Linked DNA regions of Homo sapiens: all the other regions are linked to region 1. The links are contacts of gene promoters, found by promoter capture Hi-C in blood cells and fetal thymus (Javierre and others, 2016). All regions are on one chromosome and are shown on one strand. The core of a region is centred on a gene start or on the middle of the fragment in contact, and the rest is flanking DNA. Distances in the headings are between cores, read along the strand shown. Region 1 holds the start of TTC32 (tetratricopeptide repeat domain 32). Region 2 overlaps SMC6 (structural maintenance of chromosomes 6). Region 3 has its middle 5.6 kb from the start of MSGN1.

The links. The method cuts DNA at HindIII sites, captures the fragments that hold promoters and counts their contacts. A CHiCAGO score of 5 or more calls a contact.
Region 2: a contact is called between a fragment that was not itself captured here and the fragment with the promoter of TTC32 in region 1, in 1 of 17 cell types (neutrophils). The highest score is 6.3, in neutrophils.
Region 3: a contact is called between a fragment that was not itself captured here and the fragment with the promoter of TTC32 in region 1, in 4 of 17 cell types (M1 macrophages, M2 macrophages, total B cells and 1 more). The highest score is 9.3, in M1 macrophages.

Annotation. Positions count from the first base shown.
Region 1 is chr2:19,900,093-19,903,887 of GRCh38, forward strand. It overlaps TTC32 (tetratricopeptide repeat domain 32), which reads right to left and starts at 1,891. Exons shown (of 3, transcript NM_001008237.3): 1 at 1,614-1,891. The coding sequence starts at 1,762. RefSeq lists enhancers at 852-1,733, 984-1,173, 1,314-1,373, 1,454-1,553, 1,734-2,614 and 1 more. The HindIII fragment of the contact is 3,134 bases long and covers 1-3,016 here.
Region 2 is chr2:17,709,582-17,713,376 of GRCh38, forward strand. The region is part of intron 16 of SMC6 (structural maintenance of chromosomes 6); the gene reads right to left. Among named protein-coding and RNA genes, the nearest start is that of SMC6, 42 kb to the right of the region's middle. The HindIII fragment of the contact is 8,646 bases long and covers 1-3,795 here.
Region 3 is chr2:17,809,004-17,812,798 of GRCh38, forward strand. No RefSeq gene overlaps it. Among named protein-coding and RNA genes, the nearest start is that of MSGN1, 5.6 kb to the right of the region's middle. The HindIII fragment of the contact is 2,215 bases long and covers 785-2,999 here.

The sequences.
Region 1 (3,795 bases), core at 641-3,140:
GCTGGTAAGGCATAGCTATTATATATGCTACAGACACTTGTGTTCTTAGGCTGAGAGGTGCAAAGAAGGAAGAATAACAAGACTAGACAGCAACAGCATACCTGATGCTGATAAATACTTTTTAAAATCTACTAGGTAAGTCTACTCTTAGAGCTTGAAACATGAATAGTTTCGCTTTCTATGTTTACTTATCTTTTTTATGGGGGAGGTGCACTGAGGAAAGTAGATGGTATCATCTTATTGCCTGTTCAGAAACTTCTATTATTATTCTTGTGTGTTATTGAAATGAGAAGGCAATTTTCTTTCTGGTTTAATTCCATGTAGCGTAACAAACAGGGTAAGAATCAAGTCCTTAGTGTTTAGTTAAGCCTCATACAAAAGACAAGCTGGCATCCTGTCCAGAAAACTCAAATCCACAACAGACAACTCACAACTATTCAAAAAGCTGTTCAACCAACCCCTCTGTTCTTTTCTCATCCTGATCCACTCCATACCATCAACAAGCCCAGTCGAGGCAAGACTTGGAGTAAAAACAAATGCTACACATCCAGGCACAAGCCGAAAAGATGCTTTGGGCAAGCAGACAGTAACAGGTGAAGCCGCTCACATCACAAAGAGAAAGTCAGCGAATCGTTATGTGCTTCCTGGTGAAAGTACACACACCCACCTAAAAAGTATTCTTGCCATGATATTGAATCTGAATTCAATTGGATCAAACCTCAAGGTTTAACCACCAATTCACAGCAATATGAGACAGATGACCACATTAAACGACAGAAGAGATTCAGTCAGCAAGTCCAAAACACGGAAATTCAAAGGACACAAGAATCGGTTTCCTCAACAAATAAAGAGGGGAAGGTGGAGAAGAGACTTAAAAAGACTTGATGTGTATCCTGACTTGAACTAACTGCGAAAAGGGAACCAAAGAACAAAACACCTTATTAGTCGATCAGAATGGTTCCAACACTGACGACTTGATATTAAGTAACTATGTGATGATGACATGGTGGTTCCTTCTGAAACATCCATGGATGAATACAATAGGTAAACTGATAATGCTTAAGCCAAGTGATAAACACCTAGACGTTCGTTATGCTCTCTTCCACATATTTAAACGTTTTTCACAAGTGAAAAACACCACCAAGAGCCTGCGCCGTGACACTGAGATGGGAGTCGCGGTACTGTGGCCCTACGCAGCCGTGACCCCTTCCCTTCCCAGGTCGCGGATTTCCCGCCAGCTAAAATCACGAGTGGAAAATTCCTATCTGTCCTAAGTCTCTGGGTGCGAATGAGGAACGTGGAAGGAGAGACGGCGGGGTGAGAGGCGGCGGCCCGCGCCCGAGGATCGCGCAGAGGGCTTGGTTCCCGGAAATCTCTCCGCACCGTCGCGGCAGCTGGCTCCTCACGGGTGGGCTTCTCCCCGCGTTCTCCGCCGCCCTCGTCCTAGGCCTCGCCTAGGCCTTTCTAGAAAGACGAACGTCCGCCCGCTCAGTCCTAGTGCTGGGTTATGACAAGCGCCGACCGTGAGCTCCAGAGGCAAAGATAGGAGCCCAAACAACCCCAACGTCGCCTCCACCCGGGGTCGCCGCGGCCCCAGGTCTCGCGATAGTTACCTCCCGGGACTCTCGTCGCTGGAGGCCGCGCAAGCGCACCGGCGAATGTAAGCGGAGTACAGTGCCTCGGCCTCCGCGTACTCTCCATTGTTGAAATGAGCCTGGGCGAGTGTTAGGGTTGCGTGGCTTTCTTGCCGCTGTCCTTCCATAGCAGCCAAGGCCTAGTTTTCGGTGTAGAATGGGGGTTGACCTCCGAGCGGTTAGAGGTGGCACCACAAAGCCACTTCCACACCCTGGAATCTACCTTGACAGCCAACCTTGGCGCTAGGTTTGTGCCTTATGGGGATCCGTCGTCTCGCGAGATAACGGTTCCGCTGCTGGCGGGGCGTTTGCAGTGGCCCTTGTGAACTATGTTTCTGCCGTTACCAGTGTTGGACCCGCCTTCCTCTTTTCCTAGAAAAGGCGCAGATGCGTGGTCGCAAACTGATTTCCAAGTCCGTTGTCTGATGCTGCGAGACACTATCCGTTTGTTACAGCGAATTGGGGGCCGATGACGCTGGAGGTGGAAGAAGCCGCGGTTCTGTTTCTTAATGGCGAATTAGCCTGCGGACGTCCTGTCATTCCCTTGCCTTTTAGCGTCCCAACTTAGCAAAACTCCGCGTTTAGGGTGTTCTGAGTAGGCTTTGTCTACCCTGAAACGCTTTGTGTCGACATTCCACCAGGTCTGTTCCACGGTCCAAACTTCTCTACCTTTTTTGACCCTCTAGAATTGTGTTACGATTAGTAGTATATTGTGTCGAGAGTCTGGGATCTTTGATGTTAGTTATATTCCCTGGCTGTTTATGCCAAAGGGAAATCCAAATAGTAATTTATTACGTACATTACGTATAATTCAAATTAAAATTTTGTAAGAACAGTTGCCAACCACGCTACCCTACATGCCTGCTGTGTATCTTCTCGGCGTCCCTCGATTCTGTTTTGCTTCCCAAAGTACTTGAGCCCTTTCCGTCATAAAAAGTAAAGATGAAAAATATATTTGGAGCATGATACTTACATGCGGAAGTCTTAACAGGACATAAATTGTGTGCTTTTGGCTGCTTTCATTAGATTTTTAATTTTTTCCTTTTACCACCACTGAAAAAAATACAAATACAGTGGATTAAGGTTAAATTAAAAAGCACTAGTAGAAATTAAAAGATTGCAAGACTACAAAAAAATAAACTGGCATTTCTGGTGTAAGCAAATGGACAGCTCAATAGAACAAAAGCCCAGAAACATACCTCAAATAGGCTGTATTTTGTAAAAGACATGTAACATATATGGGGAAAGGACAGATTATTCAAATGAGTGCTATTGGGAGGATTAGTTAACCATTTGGGGAAAAATACATTTAAGCATTTAAGCTCCCAATTGACATAATATTCATTCCAGGTGAATTAAAAGATTAAATAAATAAGATAAAAAGCTTTTTTTTTTCAGTTCCCATTTATTTTTGCCTCTTGGAGCAATGTCATCTTTTCAATATGAAAAAAACAAAACAAAAAACAAATCTGAAGTACAGGATAGAACAAAACCAAGTGTGTTGGGGGAAGCAACAGCAAAGGGAAGACAAGATGTTGCAAAAAAAAAAATGGAGGGGGGATTCCCCTCTCCTCTGGGGAATGACTCAAACACTGATGTGGCAGCGTACACTATTCTACATAAAGCCAGGGATGTTAATCCTTTTGGGGGATAAGAAAAAGTGGAGATGGCCAGGCTCTGTGGCTCATGCCTGTAATCCCAGCACTTTGGGAGGCCTAGGCGGGCAGATCACCTGAGGACAGGAGTTTGATAACAGCCTGGCCAACATGGCAAAACCCCGTCTCTACTAAAAATGCAAAAAATTAGCTGGGCGTGGTGGCGGGTGCCTGTAATCCCAGCTACTCATGAGGCTGAGGCACAAGAATCCCTTCTGGGTGGAAGTGGTTGGCAGTGAGCTAATTTTTGTATTTTTTGTGGTGATGGGTTTCCCCATGTTGTCCAGGCTGATCTCCAACTCCTGGGTTCAAGACATCTGCCCACCTCAGCCTCCCAAAGTGCTAGGACTACAGGCATGAGCCACCGCACCTGACTAGAAGTTTTGCTTTGTTCTGTTCAAGGAATAACAGGAATATTTATGTGTCTAAAAACCAGTGATCTAAGAGGAAAATAGCAGGATATGTAATGGAAATTGGGGATTTGGGAAGGGGGTTTCTAAATAGGA
Region 2 (3,795 bases), core at 809-3,308, 2.2 Mb before region 1:
CATCCATTAATTCAACACATATTTAGTGAGCACCTACTCTGTGCCAGGTGCTGTTCCAGAGGATAAAGGGAGCAGTATACAAAACAGACTACACCCTGTTCATGGAGCTTACATTTTTTTGAAGGAAGACAGAGAATAAAGAAAAAGAAGGGAAGGCAGCTTATGGTGCTTTTTTACACACACAAAAAAAGACGAGAAAAAGCCTCACTAAGGTAACACTGGGCAGATACCTGAGGAAATGATATAGTCACATAAGTAACCTTAGAAGACCATTTCAGACAGAGGGAAGAGCAATCGCAAAGACCCTAAAAGGTGTGTCAGAGAAGCAAGGAGACAGATTGCCACAGTAGGCAGATCAGGGAGGGAAGTGTTTCCAGAGACAGGATAAGAAAGATGGTGAGAGGACAGATCATCCAGGCCTAGAGGTCACAGTCAGCCCTGTGATAAGGAAAACAGCAAAGTTTAGAGTCCTTTGAGCAGAGGCACAACATGACCTGACTTTACGTTGGCTGCTGTACTGAGACTGTGGTGCCAAGTAACCAGAAGCAGGGAGATCAGCCTGTGCAATTCTCAAGGGAAACATGATGATGGCGTGAGCCAGTAGAGTCACCACACAAGTGGTCAGATCTTGGATATATTTCTGAAGTACAGCCAGTAGGATGTGGGGTAGCAGAAAGGAGTCAAGAATGACTCTGCAATAGAGAAATGAAGATGGAGAAGATTACTGAAAGTGCAGGTTTTGGGGTGGAAATCGGGAGTATGGCTTTCAGACATGGTAAGTTTGAAATGCTTATTGGGCATCTAAGTGAAAAATATATATTAAGTATATTATATTATAGAGTTCAGAAGAAAAAGGCAACCTACAAACACAGTTTCAGTCATCAATGTATGATCTGTAAAGCCATGCAATCAGATGAGTTCACCTAGGGAGAAGTGCATACCAAGAAGAGTTCTGGAGCACTGGTACAGTCAGCTGTGAGGAGGAAGAAGCAAAAGATACCAAAAACGAACACCTAGAGAATTAGGAAAATGAGAAGAGTGAGGTCCTTGGGCCAAGTGAAAAAGTGTTTCAGGAAGAATGAAAGGATCAAGGGCAAATACTGCCAGTAAGTAAAATTAGTGAAGAGTAATGACTTTGAGTCAATTGAGTTAAGCGAAGTGAGGCTTGCTGATGCCTTGATAAGAGCTGTTTTGGTATGTGGTGAAATTATAAAGTCTAACTGGAGAAGGTTCAAGAAAGAAGGTAGAAAGAAATTAGAGAAACAGACAACTCCTTTGAGTTTTTCCTGAAAAGGGAAGCAGAGAAAAGTGACAGTAGCAGGTAAATGGCTTTTTAGGACAGAGTTCAGGTGGAAAAAAAACAAGGATAAGAAAGAATAGGGTATGGGTGCTCTAGAAACGTCAGGCAGTCAATGAAACAAAGTACGGAACAAGGAGATAAAGAAAGGGAGTAGGAGTCTAAGAGGGGAGGACGTGGTAGGCAGTTCTGGTGAAATGTAGACTCTCGCTAGCCTGTTGAGAGCACAGGTTTTGACACTAGGAAGGAGTCACCATTTTCGGGCAGCCAAAGGCCATCATTACATGAAGCTGTTACTACCAGTTTCCTCTAAAGCGCCAAGTCACAACTACCTCTTCCTTTTGCTATTCGTCCCTGGGATTTACCTCATACTGGCTTATATTACAATTAATAGTATGTTGAGGGAGGATACAATATTAGTCTAGCAGAGCCAAAAGTAGAAAGGAATATAAGTAATGAGATGTTGGTGACAGGGGACAAGGAGAAGATAATAGGACACAGGTTCACAAACAATGTTAAGCAGAAAGTCTAAACAAAACATACTGACAAAGGAAAAAGTGCACAGAAAATCTAGTCAAGTATAATAGGCCTCACTGGTAAGCGGAGTTACAGGACAAAATGATTTTTTTTCATCCTAATTATACTTAAATCATTTGATAAAAAGATGTGATTTCTAAAGTCAAGTAAAAGGAAAAACACCACTAAGTTAAAATATAGGAAAAAAACATGATTAAAATTTGGTGTATTTTTATTTTATTTTTTTGAGACAGGACCTCCCTCTGTCACCTGGAGTGCAGTGGCACGATCACAGCCCACTGCAGCCTTGACTTCCAGGGCTCCAGTGATCCTCCCACCTCAGGCTCCTGAGTAGCTGGGACCACAGGCACATAGCACCATGCTCAGTTTATTTTTGTATCTTAGGTAGAAACGGCGTTTCACCACATTACCCAGGCTGGTCTTAAATGCCTGGGATCAAATGATCCACGCGATTCGGCCTCCCAAAGTGCTGGGATTACAGGTGTGAGCCACCGTGACTGGTCTAAATTTGGTGTATTTTTAATTTCTCCAAATATAAGAAGATATAAAGTGAGAAGTTATAACAGACTATGAAGAGAGCTGTGCGGAGCACCAGAAGGAGATGAAGAAAAGCCCATAAAATAGGCTGAGAAACACCTAAAGAGTATGAGAACCAAGAAAATGGTGTCATAGTAACAAAAGGAATATGAAGTTTGAAGGAAGGTGTATTTAATAGTATCTAATGCTTGAGAGAAGGTAAATATCAACCGGATTCGGCAACAAGGAAATAACTGGAGAATGCAATTAACATTTAGGAACCAAGAGTGGTAAGTCTATGAGTGAATGCAGTCTCCCCTAGGAGAGGTGTATTTTTAAAAGAAACGCAAATCAGAGACCTATCATGTTTAAAACAGAGAGAAAATTTAACAGGAAAGTTTAAGGCTCAGGAGAGGGCTGAAATAATTTTTTTAAATGGTTAATAGAGTCAGGCAAGAAAGTATGTGATTCAAGGCACAAGTAGACTAGCCTCAGACAGAAAGAATCTCTCTTGAGATGGGGGCAAGATGTACAAATGCAGGCATAATAGCAGGAGTAGTAGTTTAGTAGCTTCTATGTCCTTCTGAAAAGAAGAAACAAGACCATCTTTACAGGAAAGGAAAGCACATTTTCTGAATACTCCTTACGAGCTAGGCATCTTCCTAGGTACCTCTGTTAAGGTTATCTAGCGTAAGCCTAAATGACTGAAATGAGTCCTATGTATCTGATGCATTATAATACCCTAATAATATTTTACTATTATTTTCCACATTAAAATAATATAGCCAGTTTTTAAATTTAGCATTTGAACCATAATTCATACCGAAAAATTTCTTCAAACACAGAAAAAAATCACCCCTTCAAAATGTTTACAAGGCAGGTAAAGTTAACAGAATGTTAGACATACTCAAGACTCTTGTCAATATCCTGTCAACACCCAAAAGGATTAGAATCTAGTTTCTTCCACAACTCCAACAACTTGTGTTTCAGCTACCTGCTCCTGAAGCCAAAACATGGACTTTGTCATCCCCTAGACCTGTTCCATTCAACTTGAATTTCTCACTCTTACCACAACCTCCTATCCTTCCAGACTTATCATGCATTTAAGCATATTCTCTAACTTCACTGAGGTGGGTCTAAACACTTTCTCGTAGGCCTCTCTTTCTTTAAACTAGTTTGTCAACAAAACACTCAACTGCTTCCCTTTTCCCTTTCTGCAGTACCTACCCACTCTAAAAAACTCTAATGTTTATCTAACAGTACAGACTCTCCCTCCACTCACATCTCTAAAGAAACATTATTAGTGAAAAATCCTGCAGCCACTAGGCTTTTGTATCTTAAGCAGACTTCGAGTCAGCTTCCTCTCTCATTCTCCTTGGTAGCCAATCTAAACCCTTAAAGAAGGTACCTCCTAGCAACTCCTGAGGCCCTTGTTCTCAGCACAT
Region 3 (3,795 bases), core at 642-3,141, 2.1 Mb before region 1:
GAGGTTGAGGCTGCAGTGACTCGTGATCACGCCACTGCATGCCACTGCACTGCACTCTAGCCTGGGTGACAGAACGAGACTCTGTCTCAAAACAAACAAACAAACAAACAAGCCTGTAGGAGTCATGTCTTTCAGAAAGCCTTCCAGATTTACTTTTGTGGCCTTCCACTGAGTGCCTGGTTTGTATGTTAAATATTTGTAAGATTTGACCCAGGTTTTGTCTGCCCCCAAGGTTGTCCTCTTGTCACCAATATCACTTTTTATCCATCCACCAATGTCTGGACAACAAGTGAAGTACTAAAGTGCTAACATTGTAAAAGAGACAAGTTAGTTACAGAGGGCTCCCAAGGCTGTCACATACAGTTGTGCAGATTGTGCCCTATGGTTAAATTTATCAAAGCATTTTTGACATTGTTTCATAAGTAGTTTATTTCTCTATTACCACCTTCAATACCCTGAGCAACTTGAAGACAAACGCTTTTTAATTTGACTTTCTGTCCTCAGCACCCAGTACAGTATTTGGCACCCAGCATGCGCCAAGTAAAAGCCCAAAGACCAAAGGACTAGTCATCTTCTGAGCTCCTGGCACCATGCTAAGAGATAGAAAAGCCATCATCTATATCTTTAAAGACGTTTCAATGTAGCTGATGGGAATAAGTCATATCCATGTGAACAGAGAACCAGAATATCAGGTGGTAAATATTAATGGCAAATGAATGGTGCCAAATCTAAGTGCTACTGATCAGAAAAGTGGGAAATTCCAAGGGCTGAGGCAGGCAGGGAAAGCTTCATGGAAGAGGCAAGATTGGAACCAAGCCTTGCATCTTGTACCTATTCCCAGTGATTACATTACATGTATGAAGCTGTTTTTGGGAAATAGTGTAGTAGAGTAGAATTTGAAATTATAATTATGTAGTACGGGGGGATTTGGAATTCACACAGACTTAGATCGCATTCTACTTTTCCCATCCTCTTGCTGTGTCTGCTGGGTCTCTTTCTGAACACAAATTTCTTCATCTTTAGGTTGTGGATTAGAACCTCTATCTTTCAAAATTGCTGCGAAAATTAAGATTAACTAATGAACCTGAAAGAGAAAAGTCTGGTTCTCAGCACATGGCAGGAATGCAATAAAGGTTCACCCTCATTTTAATTAGACTCCAGGGTTAGATTTCTTAGTTTATTGACCAAATTCTTATCTATGGAAGGCTTTTCTGAAGCATTATTAGGAGTTGGAATTCACTGGAGTCCTCCCTCTGACTCGAACAAATGGCCCATACAAACTACCTCATGTAGAACAGGGATCCAGGAGATCACAAGAGAAATAGACCCTCAACCTTGATGCTTCTCAAAGGTCTGAGACGGTCCTATTTCTCATGAGACAGGCTTTTAAAGGAGCATGAACCACCTTCCATGCTGATTTACCTGGTGTCATGTATCATGGCAAATGGCTGGGTTTGGAGCAGATAATTGCATTGGTGAAAGTATTTTTGTTAATCTTGGTAATATCAAAACATATCCCTATACTCTTTCATACTTTCCAAAGTCAAGTCTCAATTTTTTAATTTTTAAAAATGTCATAGCAACACAATATATAAGATTCCTAATTTTCACACAAGGAAACTGAGGTCCGCAAAGGTTGAATGACTCACTCAAATTTCCATAGTAAAGTAGAGGATTTGGGTGCCTTGAGTGACAGTTCCACATTTCTAGACTGAATTCCAAGTTCTCTTTGGCAGTGGTGTACCAAGGATGGGGGTGTTGGTGGGAGTGGGCTTCCCTAAAGAGGAGTCATTTTATTATTGTCATTGTTTAGAATTGCCACTACATGGTTATAATAAGATAAAGACCAACTTTTAGCCAAGCATTATCACTGTTTTAAAATTATATGTAGACAATACCTCCCTTTATTGCCTACACCAGAGGCTGAAGGTTCTCACCACCCATCCAGGGTACGCCACTACTCTGGTTCCATTAAAAAAGAAAGATTACATTTGAATGGAGGGATTTTGGTTTCTAAGCAGGGGGGACTTGAGGCCAAGAGAAAGTGGGAGTGATATATTTGTGGCTACTTGTATTGTGGCTCTAACTTCTCTTGACTCAAGGAACCAAGAATGTACCCAGCACAAGATTTTTGTTTGTTTGTTTTTTTGAGATGGAGTCTTGCTCTGTCACCAGGCTGGAGTACAGTGGCACGATCTCGGCTCACTGCAATCTCCGCCTCCCAGGTTCAAGTGATTCTCCTGCCTCAGCCTCCCAAGTAGCTGGGATTACAGGCACATGCCACCACACCGAGCTAATTTTGTATTTTTAGTAGAGACGGGGTTTCACCATGTTGGCCAGGATGCTCTCGATCTCCTGACCTCGTGATCCACCCACCTTGGCCTCCCAAAGTGCTGGGATTACAAGCATGAGCTACAGCACCCTGCCCCAGCACAAGATTAATAATTACAGCAACATTAGTTACCACACTTACAGTTTACAATGTGTAAACCTGCTAAAAGCGTGTACTCTATAAGGCAAGTATTAGTATTTCAATTGCACAGATGAAGATGAAGCTGAAGCTGAGAAAGATTGATTCATGTGTCCCAGGTCACAATAACAGAGGAGGAAATGTAAGATGTGACAGGTTTGACCTGGCTCCTATTCCTGCACTCTTGCCACTACCCCCATGTTCTATCTGTTCACCGATGTTCAAACAGCCACCAAAGTACTAAAAATGCTAACATTGCAGAGGAGGCACATCACAGGGGCTCCCAGGGCCACTGCTTGAGGAGGGTGCACCCTGCACAAAGGTGCTGGGCTGAAGAGGCAAGCAGGGCTGAAATAAGCCTTAGCTTGGTTGTTTTGTAATTTGCACAAAGGAGCCGTATGGGCTGGTAATGGCATGGAACCACCGGTGGCCACAGCTTAAGGAATTCCATCAGCCTCTTGATTTCTGTTTTCTGTCTATCCTTTGAGCACTATTTGCCAATTTCCTGGAAGTGGCTCTGCCTCAAGAAAGCTTCCTGGCTCTTAAATGTAGAGTTTACAATCCTCTGAGGCCAGTGTGAAATGCCCAGTTGTCCTGACTGTTGTCAGGAACATGACCAGCATTCCCTCAGAAGCTCATCATTCTGAAAATTAGACACAGACCACTTATTAATATGTATGGCAAATCTGGGATCCTCCTTAGTGAGTGTAGCTACAATAAAAAGGTCAATATGAAGGCCTGGGATTTGAGAGATGAAACAACCTGTACCTTTGTCTTATACTTTGGAAAATAGGACCTGAACATTTTTCAAGGTCTCTTGAGAGTGGGCCTCAAGGTTGGGGGCCTCTTTTCAATCTGTCACAGTCATAGTCACAATAGCTTATAAATATCTGTTGCTTGAATGACATTTGAAGTAAAATATTTATCCCAATAAATCAGTAATGTGGGAAATACGTAGTCTGCCTGATGTGAATACTTTGCAATTAGTCCTATTAGTTTCAAAGGAAGAAAAAGGACAGATATGGGAGGCAGGCAACTTTGGCTTTTCTCTTTCCATCTCTGCCACAGCCTTTGGGTATGACATTGAGCAAGTCATTCACCATGTGTAGAATGCAGATTTAAAGAAATGATGGACTCAATGATATCCCCAAATGCCTTCATGCTGGTACAGTGCTCTTTTAACCAAGCATATTCACATGGTAGTAACATGTTTCATGGCATTTTGTAGCTAGACGGGAGTTTAATGATCCCTTGGTACACCCTCCTCATGTAATGAATGCTCTTGATAAAGAAGACAGAGCAGGCTGGGCACGATGGCTTACTAT